Linked DNA regions of Homo sapiens: region 2 is linked to region 1. Evidence: promoter capture Hi-C in human tissues and cell types (Jung and others, 2019). All regions are on one chromosome and are shown on one strand. The core of a region is centred on a gene start or on the middle of the fragment in contact, and the rest is flanking DNA. Distances in the headings are between cores, read along the strand shown. Region 1 holds the start of ZNF430 (zinc finger protein 430). Region 2 overlaps ZNF100 (zinc finger protein 100).

Evidence for each region. The method cuts DNA at HindIII sites, captures the fragments that hold promoters and counts their contacts. A contact is called where the count stands out against the background at its distance.
Region 2: a fragment that was not itself captured here is called in contact with the fragment with the promoter of ZNF430 in region 1 in 1 of the 25 tissues and cell types used here (stomach).

What each region holds. Positions count from the first base shown.
Region 1 is chr19:21,017,250-21,022,548 of GRCh38, forward strand. ZNF430 (zinc finger protein 430) reads left to right here and starts at 3,408. Exons shown (of 5, transcript NM_025189.4): 1 at 3,408-3,554. The coding sequence starts at 3,552. RefSeq lists enhancers at 3,098-3,691, 3,692-4,283. The HindIII fragment of the contact is 8,151 bases long and covers 1-5,299 here.
Region 2 is chr19:21,752,180-21,757,478 of GRCh38, forward strand. The region is part of intron 2 of ZNF100 (zinc finger protein 100); the gene reads right to left. It also overlaps the pseudogene CCNYL6. Among named protein-coding and RNA genes, the nearest start is that of ZNF100, 13 kb to the right of the region's middle. The HindIII fragment of the contact is 6,514 bases long and covers 1-5,299 here.

The DNA of each region.
Region 1 (5,299 bases), core at 2,158-4,657:
CCAGGTTCACGCCATTCTCCTGCCTCAGCCTCCCGAGTAGCTGGGACTACAGGCGCCCGCCACCATGCCCAGCTAATTTTTTGTATTTTTAGTAGAGACGGGGTTTCACCGTGTTAGCCAGATGGTCTCGATCTCCTGACCTCGTGATCCGCCTGCCTCAGCCTCCCAGTGTTGGGATTACAGGCGTGAGCCACAGTGCCAGCTCAAATATTTTCAATGATAAAAATAAATAATGTGCTGTTGGGCTTTGATTTTCTAAACTCATCCCTCAGCTATTTCCTCAAATTATTCTGTCTTCGAAATGCTTCTCCAATATTTTTTTTTTTTTGAGACAGAGTCTCATTTTACCACCCAGTGTGGATGGCAGTGGTGCAGCCAATCATGGCTTACTGCAGCCTTGACCTTCCAGACTCAAGCAATCCTCCTGCCTCTGCCACCTAAGTATTGGGACTATAGGCATGTACCACCATGGTTGGCTAATTTTTTCATTTTTTTAATGGAAACAAAATCTTATTATGTTGCTCAGGCTGCACTGGAACGCCTGAGCTCACATAATTCTCCCATCTTAGCCTCCCAAAGTGCTAGGATTACAGGTCTGAGCCACCGTGTTTGCAAAATGGTAGCAATTTTTCATCCCCCTTGTATCCATGCCCAATGCCAGATGCTTTTACAGTTGTTTCCATCAAGATTCAGAATCTGTTTTCCAAACCCTAGATCAGGCTGGCCTTATTTGCTCAGGGCAGTAGAAACCTGTGAACATGGCAATGAGCTAGTTTGGGACCTAGGCTCAAATGGTCTTGAGTGCTTCTGTTTTTCTTTTAGAATGTTGACATCACCTTGGAAAAAAGCCCATGTTAGCCAGCTGGAAAATAAGGTATCATGGGGAGGAGAAGCAAGGTGTCCCTATTGACAACCCCAGAAGCAGAACATCACCCCCAGAAGCACAGCTGCCTAGTCAACAAGCAGCTGACGACATATGACTGAAGGAGCTCAGCTGAAACCAGAAGAATGGCCCCACTGAGCCCAACCTAAATGGCTGACCATCTCGATTATGAACTAATAAGTTTTGGATGATTTGTTATGCTGCAATAGCTAACTAATACATGCACCCAGTGCAGATAGGATGCCAGGATTCAATGACAGGTTGATTACTAGTTATGTTCTAACAGTGGGCACCCTATAGGTACTGATTTTTTCCCCTGATTTAAAGTTGGGTGACTTGTAAGAGAATGTTGAGTAATGCAGAAATACAGGTAGACATGTATGCATGTGATTGGTGCTTATACCCACACAGTCCCACACACCACAGGAGAAAACAGGTAACTACAGCCTGACTAGTAGGGCCAAGGCCAATAGCAAAATAAGTTTTGCCTTTAATCTGTTTTCTCCATATCTAAACATTTGAGGTCAAGAGTGTGGACAGATCTGAAGACACAGAGTTTTATTATCCTGTGGCCCCAACATTCTTTCTTCACTGTCTGATCTCTGGAAGAAAAGTGGGCAACAGGTGGCCAGCAGTGGTCTACCTGTGGTTATTTTACTCCTGCTGCCATCTGCTCTTTTTATGGCCACTATCTGTTCCACCCTTAGAACTGAAGAAAGATATTGGTAGGGAGAGACTCTGCCTTCACTTCTGGCAGAAAAGGGATGTTCAGTTCATTCACCCCCCTGACATCAGAGCTGAACTTCAATGTGGCAGCTATTGGCCACGTGTGCCTCCTGAGTGACTGGAATGTGGCTGGTCTGAACTGCGATGTGCTAGAAAGGTAAAATACAGAGTTAGTTTCAAAGATTTAGTTTCAAATGTTTATATACATTATTAATAATTACACATTCCTCACACATTAAAATGATAATATTATGGACATATTGGGTTAAATTGTTACAATCAATTCAACCTGTTCCTTGTTTCTTTTTCAAGTTTGTCTACTAGAAAATTTAAGATTCACATGTGGCTCACATTTTATTTCAGAAGATTACCATCTTTTTAAAATCTGAGGCTGCCTCCTTTAGCCGGGAAGGTCATAAAATCTGAAATTTTAAAATAATTATTGTTACATTCTTTTCATTTTTGAATAGCCACTATATATATATAAATATAAATATATATAAAAATATATAAAAATAAAAATATAAATATATATAAAAACATAAATATATATAAATATAAATATGTATAATATATAAATATATAAAAATATATAAAAATATAAATATAAAAAATATATATAAATATAAATATATAAATATAAATATAAATATATATAAATATATACATATAAATATATAAATATAAATATATAAATATATAAATATAAATATATATAAATATATAAATATATATATATAAATATATAAATATATAAATATATATATATAAATATATAAATATTTATATATAAATATATATAAATATATAAATATATATAAATATATAAATATATATAAATATATATAAATATATAAATATATATAAGTATATAAATATAAATATATATAAATATATAAATATATATATAAATATATATAAATATATAAATATATATAATTATATAAATATAAATATATATAAATATATATAAATGTATATAAATACATAAATAAATATATAAATATATATAAATATATATATAAATAAATATATACAAATATATATAAATAAATATATATAAATATATATAAATAAATATATATAAATATATATAAATAAATATATAAATATATAAATATATAAATAAATACATATATAAATATATAAAATATATATAAATAAATATATAAAAATATATATAAATAAATATATATAAATAAATATATATATATATATATATATATATATTTTAGACAGAGTTGTGCTCTTGTTGCCCAGGCTGGAGTGCAATGGCACAATCTCGGCTCACCGCAACCTCCGCCTCCCAGGTTCAAGCGGTTCTCCTGCCTCAGCCTCCCGAGTACCTGGGATAACACACATGGGCCACCACAACCCGCTAATTTTATATTTTTTATAAAGACTGGGTTTCTCCATGTTGGTCAGGCTGGTCTCTAACTCCCGACCTCAGGTCATCTGCCCGCTTCAGCCTTCCAAAATGTTGGGATTACGGGCGTGAGCCACCGTGACCGGCCCCATATATTATTTATAAATGCATATGACCTTACACACAAGGTTAAATGCAAATAACCTCTGGGGTGGGCCTGGCTCAGCTCAGGGAGGAAGCCCTGTCAGAGAAGGATGCAGCCCAAGCTGTCACTCTTCTTTCAGCCCCGCATCTCATCACATCTTCCGTCAATCATGGCCTGAGGGGGCGGGGATTTAAATGTTATCCAATCAGAGACGCTAGGCAGGGAACCGTCCAATCAGGCACGCAGGTGAAGCGGACAGGGCGGCTTCCGGGTTTGGCGGGGCCTTTGTCCCTCGCTGTGGCCTGAGCTCCAGGTCTCGTCTTCAGCGCTCTGTGTCCTCTGCTCCTAGAGGTCCAGGCTCTGTGGCCCTGTGACCCGCAGGTATTGGGAGATCTACAGCTAAGACGCCAGGAACCCCTGGAAGCCTAGAAATGGTGAGAGTGCCGGGTCCGACATCCCCAGAGAGGGGAGGGGCTGGTTGTAATGGGTGGGAAGTGGCTGTGGCGGGACTCAGGCCTCCCGGCAGTCAGCTGCACAATCTGCGCCCCGAGTTCTTGCCCAGCTGGGCCTCAGTCCCCATCAGCCTTAAGATGGCGGCTGCGCTGACAGGCGGGCCCCAGCACGTCCCGTCTCTTCCTTGCGCAGTGACTGTGCCCTGGCCTGGAGCCCTCTCTGGGCAGCTCTGCATCCGCAGCGCCGCGTCTCTCCCAGACTGTGCAGGGACCACGGGAGGATCGTCACGGGAGAATCGTCACGGGAGAATCCTGACTTGGGGTGCGAGTTCATGAATGGGAAGAACTTTGGTCCTGGGTTCCTAGTTCCTCTTTTCTCCTATTAAAAATGTACAGACCGGGAGGGGTGGCTCACGTCTGTAATCCCAGTACTTTGGGAGGCCGAGGCGGGCGCATCACTAAGTCAGGAGAGTTCAAGACCAGCCTGGCCAGCATAGTGAAACCCCGTCTTTACTAAAAATACAAAAATTTGCCGGGCATGGTGGTACACGCCTGTAGTCCCAGCTACTTGGGAGACTGAGGCAGGAGAATCACTTGAACCTGGGAGGTGGAGATTGCAGTGAGCCGAGATAGCGCCACTGCACTACAGCCTGTGTAACAGAGCAAGACTCCGTCTCGGAAAAAAAAAATGTACAGAAGTCACCACAAAAATATTAAAGAAATTAATCAAAGAGTGATTAAAAAACTGTTGAGCACCCAGCTGTGGTTTGTAATTTGTTGTTCATGGCGGGGCTTGAAGGAAAGACTTTTATAAGGTGCATGATGAAGAAAGCCAAATTCAGTAATTGGTTAGGTACCGTTATGTAGTTTCTTAGTTTGTACAATAAAGGTGAAAATTTTCTGGTTGTGTAATCAGACCTTAATTGGCAGTATACAGTTGATTAAGCCTGAATTTTGTGTCTTTCAATGTAGTAATTTTCAAAACGATGCGCCTGAGTTAGATTTTTTTTTTTTTTTTTTTTTTTTTTTTTTGAGATGGAGTCTCGCTCTTGTCGCCCAGGCTGGAGTGCAGTGGCACAATCTCGGCTCACTACAACTTCTGCCGCTGCCTGTGTTCAAGCTTCTCCTGCCTCAGCCTTTTGAGTAGCTGGAATTACAAGCGCCTGCCACCCTGCCCAGCTAATTTTTGTACTTTTAGTAGAGACGGGGTTTCACCATGTTGGCCTGGCTGGCCTCGAACTCTTGACCTCAGGTGATCCGCCTGCCTTGGCCTCCCAAAATGCTGGGATTACAGGCGTGAGCTATCACGCCCAGCCACGTTAGATCTTTTTAAAAGTAGGAACCCAGGGTCTAGAGACACCTCAGTCTAATTGCCTGCCACTCAATTATTTTCACACTCCACGGGGAACTGATTTTCTGCTGCATTTTTCACCTGTGTCCCAAGCAGGGTCTTAAGTCTAACCCCCGTCCCCCATTTCTCCAGCCTCACTCTGGCTTGCAGTAAGATACTAAATTTCCAGTTCTTTCTGGCGTTCCCAAATGCCAACTTTTCCTACCTAATTCACATTATCACCTATTTGTCCTTTAGTGTACATTTTTTACACCGTATTTTAATTAGTTATTTTCTGACAAAGTATTAAATGGTGCTTTTAATAAGATTTGTTATCTGTTTGTAAATATTTCCCATGTGAAGAAAGCAAAGAATAATCCCCTGACACTGTGTTGTA
Region 2 (5,299 bases), core at 1,251-3,750, 730 kb after region 1:
CACAGATATTTGCTTACAATGTGGGCCAGTAACTGAACTATGTTAGGTTTTTTAAACAATAGTTTAAATTTTTAGACTTTAAAGACATTAACCATATAACTTTTATGTTTCTTCCAGTTTTTCTCCCCCTGCTCATTTTGCTGCATATGCCTTTAGAATCAATGCAGTATTGCCCTTAAAACAAGGGACTCTAACTAAAGCCACTTAGGAGCAGACTGCAGCATTGTTAGGTATTGAAGGGTTCTTCCTCCCTACTGTTACCATTAAAGCTGCTAGTCATTGGCAATCATTTTAAACCAAAAAGCTGATGGATAACATTTGTCATTCATATTCTTTGCAAGCATTACTTTAGCATTTTAGCATGTCTGCGGTCATAAACAAAGGAAGTATCAGTTATGATATCTACTTCTATTGGGGTCCATGTTGCATTTCTTGTGAACTATAAATGGTACTTCTCATTTTCTGATAATTTTTATCTTATTAAATAAATGTATTAAAAGATATTTTCATAATGCCAATGAACATGGTGGTTCAGTGACAGTGAAAAAAAAGTAAAGCAGTTTTAAGCTTTAATATAGTTTGGGCCCTCCAAGGTACTGCAGCAGGAGTATAAATGCTATAAACCTTTGAAAAACATCATTTGAGAGTTTTGTTTTTTTTCTTTAAGAGATGGGGGTCTTGCTGTGTTGTCCAGGCTGGAGTATGGTGGCTGTTCACCAGTGCAGTCATGGTGCACTGCAGCCTAGAACTTCCTGGCTTCGCGCCATCCTCTAGCCTCGGCCACACGAGTGGCTGGGACTGCAGGCGCACCCTGCATTTGTCTCCTGAATGTTAGGCTTTTGATTTTTTGTTTCAGTCACTCTTGAAGTCACTCTTGACTGAAGCAAAAAATTAAAAGCTTTATATTCAAAATTCTCAAAATGAAGCTGGGTGTGGTGGTGCACACCTGAGGTTCCAGCTACTTGGGTGGCTGGAGGATTGCTTGGGGTCAGGTATTGGAGGCTGCAGTGTATCGTGATGGTGCCTATAGAAATAGCTACTGCACTTCAACCTGGACAACATATCGGGACCCCATCTCTTAGAAAAATGCAAAATTAAATGCAAAAGAAATGCACCGGGCATAGTGATTCATGCCTATAATCTCAGTACTTTGGGAGGCTGAGGTGGGAGGATTACTTGAGCGCAGCAGTTCAAGACCAGTCTAGTCAACACAGTGAGCCCCTGTCTGTAAAAAATAATAATAAATAAAAATAATTAGCTGGATATGGTGGCGTATGTCTGTAGTCCCAGCTACTCTGGAGGCTGAGGTGGGAGGATCACTTGAGCCTGCGGGGTCAAGGCTGCAGTGGGCCATGATCATGCTACTGCACTCCAGTCTGGGCGACATCCAGACCCTATCTCAAAAGAAGGAAAAGAAAAACATTCAGGCAAGGTTTTATGAAGGTTTGTAGCACTTCTACAAGTATCAAAGCTTAAAATTACATTAAACCTTTGGAATATCTTGTATCTCCATAAAATGCCCTTCTCTTTTTAAAATGAATTACTTGCAGAGCTGTGCTCTATATGCATTGATCACCGAAGTTTCTTTAATTTAAAGGAAGATTTTGAAGAGCACTGTTAATTAACATGTAATAAAAGGAACTGGGCCCTAATGATAGAAGGTGATATGAACAGCTGTTTTATCATCCTACATGCTACCAACCTGTAGGTGTCCCATTAAGTCCTGCTATTTAAGAAATAACTTACATAACCCTTAGGAACACTTACTTCAGGCTTTAAAAGGCAAGGAACAAATAATTTTAGGAGACTGATAATGCCATCTAAATTTGAAAAACTAAAAGGAGATTAGTGTTCTCAATTATGTGAAATCTATTTCTCCTACTTACTCAAATCTAATCCTAGGAATCTTGCTTATAAACAAAGCATTCCTGGGCCAGGAATACTTCCTCTACTATAGCAATATTTCACATCATATTGTGCTGCAATTTCCATCATTTTTAAAGGGCAGAGAAATAAATGATAAATAATGGTATAAAAATATTACAATCTACCACCTCAAAAAAAAAACAACAAAACATTGTTTATGGAGTTCAGAGCTTGGAGAGTCAAGTATTGATAGCTGTTTTATTTTAAAAAGAATGTTACAATTTATGTGGTTTTTATTTCTCATGTTTATATTAAAAGTTAATAAACTCTTTTAATTAAAAACATATCATTATTTCAATAGAAAAAAGCCTTTGATAAAATTCAGCATCCCTTCATGTTAAAAACCAATGGAACAGAACAGAGACCTCAGAAATACCACCACACATTTACAACCATCTGACCTTTGACAAACCTGACAAAAGCAATGGGGAAATGATCTTCTGTTAAGTAAATGGTGCTGGGGAAACTGGCTAGCCATATGCAGAAAACTGAAACTGGACCCCTTCCTTACAAAATTATACAAAAATTAACTTATACAAAAAGTAACTCAAGATGGGTTAAACACTTAAATGTTTAACCATAAAAACCCTAAATGAAAACCTAGGCAATACCATTCAGGACAAAGGCATGGGAAAGACTTCATGACAAAAACACCAAAAGGAATCGCAACAAAAGCCAAAATTTGACAAATGGGATCTAATTAAAGAGCTTCTGCACAGCAAAAGAAAACCATCATCAGAATGAACAGACAACCTACAGAACAGGAGAAAATTTTTGCAACCTACCCATCTGACAAAGGTCTAATATCCAGAATTTATAAGGAACTTATACAAATTTAAAAGAAAGACAACCCCATCAAAAAGTGGGCAAAACATGAACAGATACTTCTCAAAAGAAGACATTTATGTGGCCAACAAACATGAAAATACACTCAGCCGAGCTCACGCCTGTAATCCCAGCACTTTGGGAGGCCGAGGCGGCTGGATCACCTGAGGTCGGGAGTTCAAGACCAGCCTGGCCAACATGGAGAAACCCGTCTCTACTAAAAATACAAACTTAGCCAGGCATGGTGGGGCATGTAATCCCAGCTACTCGGGAGGCTAAGGCAGGAGATTCGCTTGAACCCAGGAGGCAGAGGTTGCAGTGAGCCAAGATCGCACCATTGCACTCCAGCCTGGCCAATGAGAGTGAAAGTCCGTCTCAAGAAAAAAGAAAAAAAGAAAAAAAAAAAAGCTCAACATCACTGATCATCAGGGAAATGCAAATCAAAACCACAGTGAGATACATCTCACACCAGTCAGAATGGTAATGATTAAAAAGTCAAGAAACAGATGCCGGTGAGGCTGTGGAGAAATAGTAACACTTTTACACTCTTGGTGGGAAGGCAAATTAGTCTAACCATTGTGGAAGACAGTATGGTCATTCCTCAAGGATCTAGACCAGAATTACCATTTGATCCAGCAATCCCATTACTGGGTATATACCCAAAGGAATATAAACCATTCTACTATAAAGACACATGCACATGTATGTTTACTGCAGCACTATTTACAATAACAAAGACATGGAGCCAACCCAAATGCCCATCAATGACAGACTGGATAAAGAAAATGTGGTACATATAAGCCATGGAATACTATGCAGCCATCAAAAGGAATGAGATCATGTCCTCTGCAGGAACATGAATGAAGCTGGAAGCCAGCATCCTCAGCAAACTAACACAGGAACAGAAAACAAAACATTGCATGTTCTCACTCATAAGTGGGAGCTGAACAATGAGAACACATGGACACAGAGAGGGAAACTACACCCACAGGGCCTGTTGAGGGGTGAATGGTGAGGAGACAGAACATAGAGGACGGGTGAATAGGCGCACCAAACCACCATGGCACACATACCTATGTAACAAACCTGCATGTTCTGCAAGTGTATCTCCCTGCTTTTTTAGAAGAAATTTTTTAAAAGAGGAAAAAAATGTTACTTATCACATAAACCAAAACTAAAGACAAAAACCACATGATTATTTCAATAGATGCTAAAAAAGCCTTCAATATAATTTACTATCCTTCATGTTTAAAACCCTCAACAAACTAGGCATTGAAGGTACATACTTCAAAATAATGAGTCATCTTTCACAAACTTACAGCCAACATACTAAATGGACACAAGTGAGAAGCATTCCTCCTTGAAAACTGGCACAAGACAAGGATGCCTTCCCTCAAAACTCCTGTTCGACATAGAATTGGTACAGTCTCAGCAGAAAAGCTCTTTAAACTGAAAAGCAAGTTCTGCAAAGTTTCAGGATACTAAATCAGTAGCATCTCTGTACATCAACAACATCCAAGCCAAAAGCCAAATCAAAAACATAATGCCATTCACAATTGCCACACACACACACACACAAATATCGAGGAATACAGCTACCCAGGAATGTGAAAGATCTCTATGACAAGATGATCAAACACTGCTTAAAGAAGTGAGAGATGACATAAACAAATGGAAAACCATTTTATGCCATGGATAGAAAAGATTAGCATCACTAAAATGTCAAAACTACCCAAAGAAATTTACTGACTTAATGCTATTCCTATCAAACTACCAAAAACATTGTTAACAGAACTAAAACTTAACTATTTTAAAATTTATATGGAACTAAAATAAGCCTGAATAGCCAAGGCAATTTTAAGCAAAAAGAACAAAGCTGGAGGTATTACATTAACCCTCTTCAAACTACACTACAGGGCTACGATAACCAAAGCAGCATAATACTGATGCAAAAAGAGATGCATAGAAAAATGCAACACAATAGAGAGGCCAGAAATAATGCCACACACCTCCAACTATCTGATCTTTGACAAAGCTGACAAGAGGAATGAGGAAATAATTCCCTATTTAATAAATGGTGCTGGAACAAGCTGGGAGAGGTGGCTCACACCTGTAATTCCAGCACTTTGGGAGGCCAAGGTGGGTGTGGATCAGTTGAGGTAAGGAGTGCGATACCAGCCTGGCCAACGTGGTGAAACCCTGTCTCCACTAAAAATACAAAAATTAGCTGGGCAAGGTGGCACATGCCTATAATTCTAGCACTTTGGGAGCCCAAGGCAGGTAGATCACTTGAGATCAGGAGTTTCAGGCCAGCCTGGCCAATACTGCAAAACTTCATCTCTACTAAAAATACAAGAATTATCAGGGCATGGTGGTGCATGTCTGTAGTTCCAGCTACTCAAGAGGCTGAGGCATGAGAAATGCTTCAACCCATGAAGCAGAGGTTGCACTGAGCCAAGATATGCCACTGAACTCCAGCCTTGGTCACAGAGTGAGACCCTGTCTCAAAGGAAAAAAATAGTCACTAACAGATACTGGCAAGGTTGCA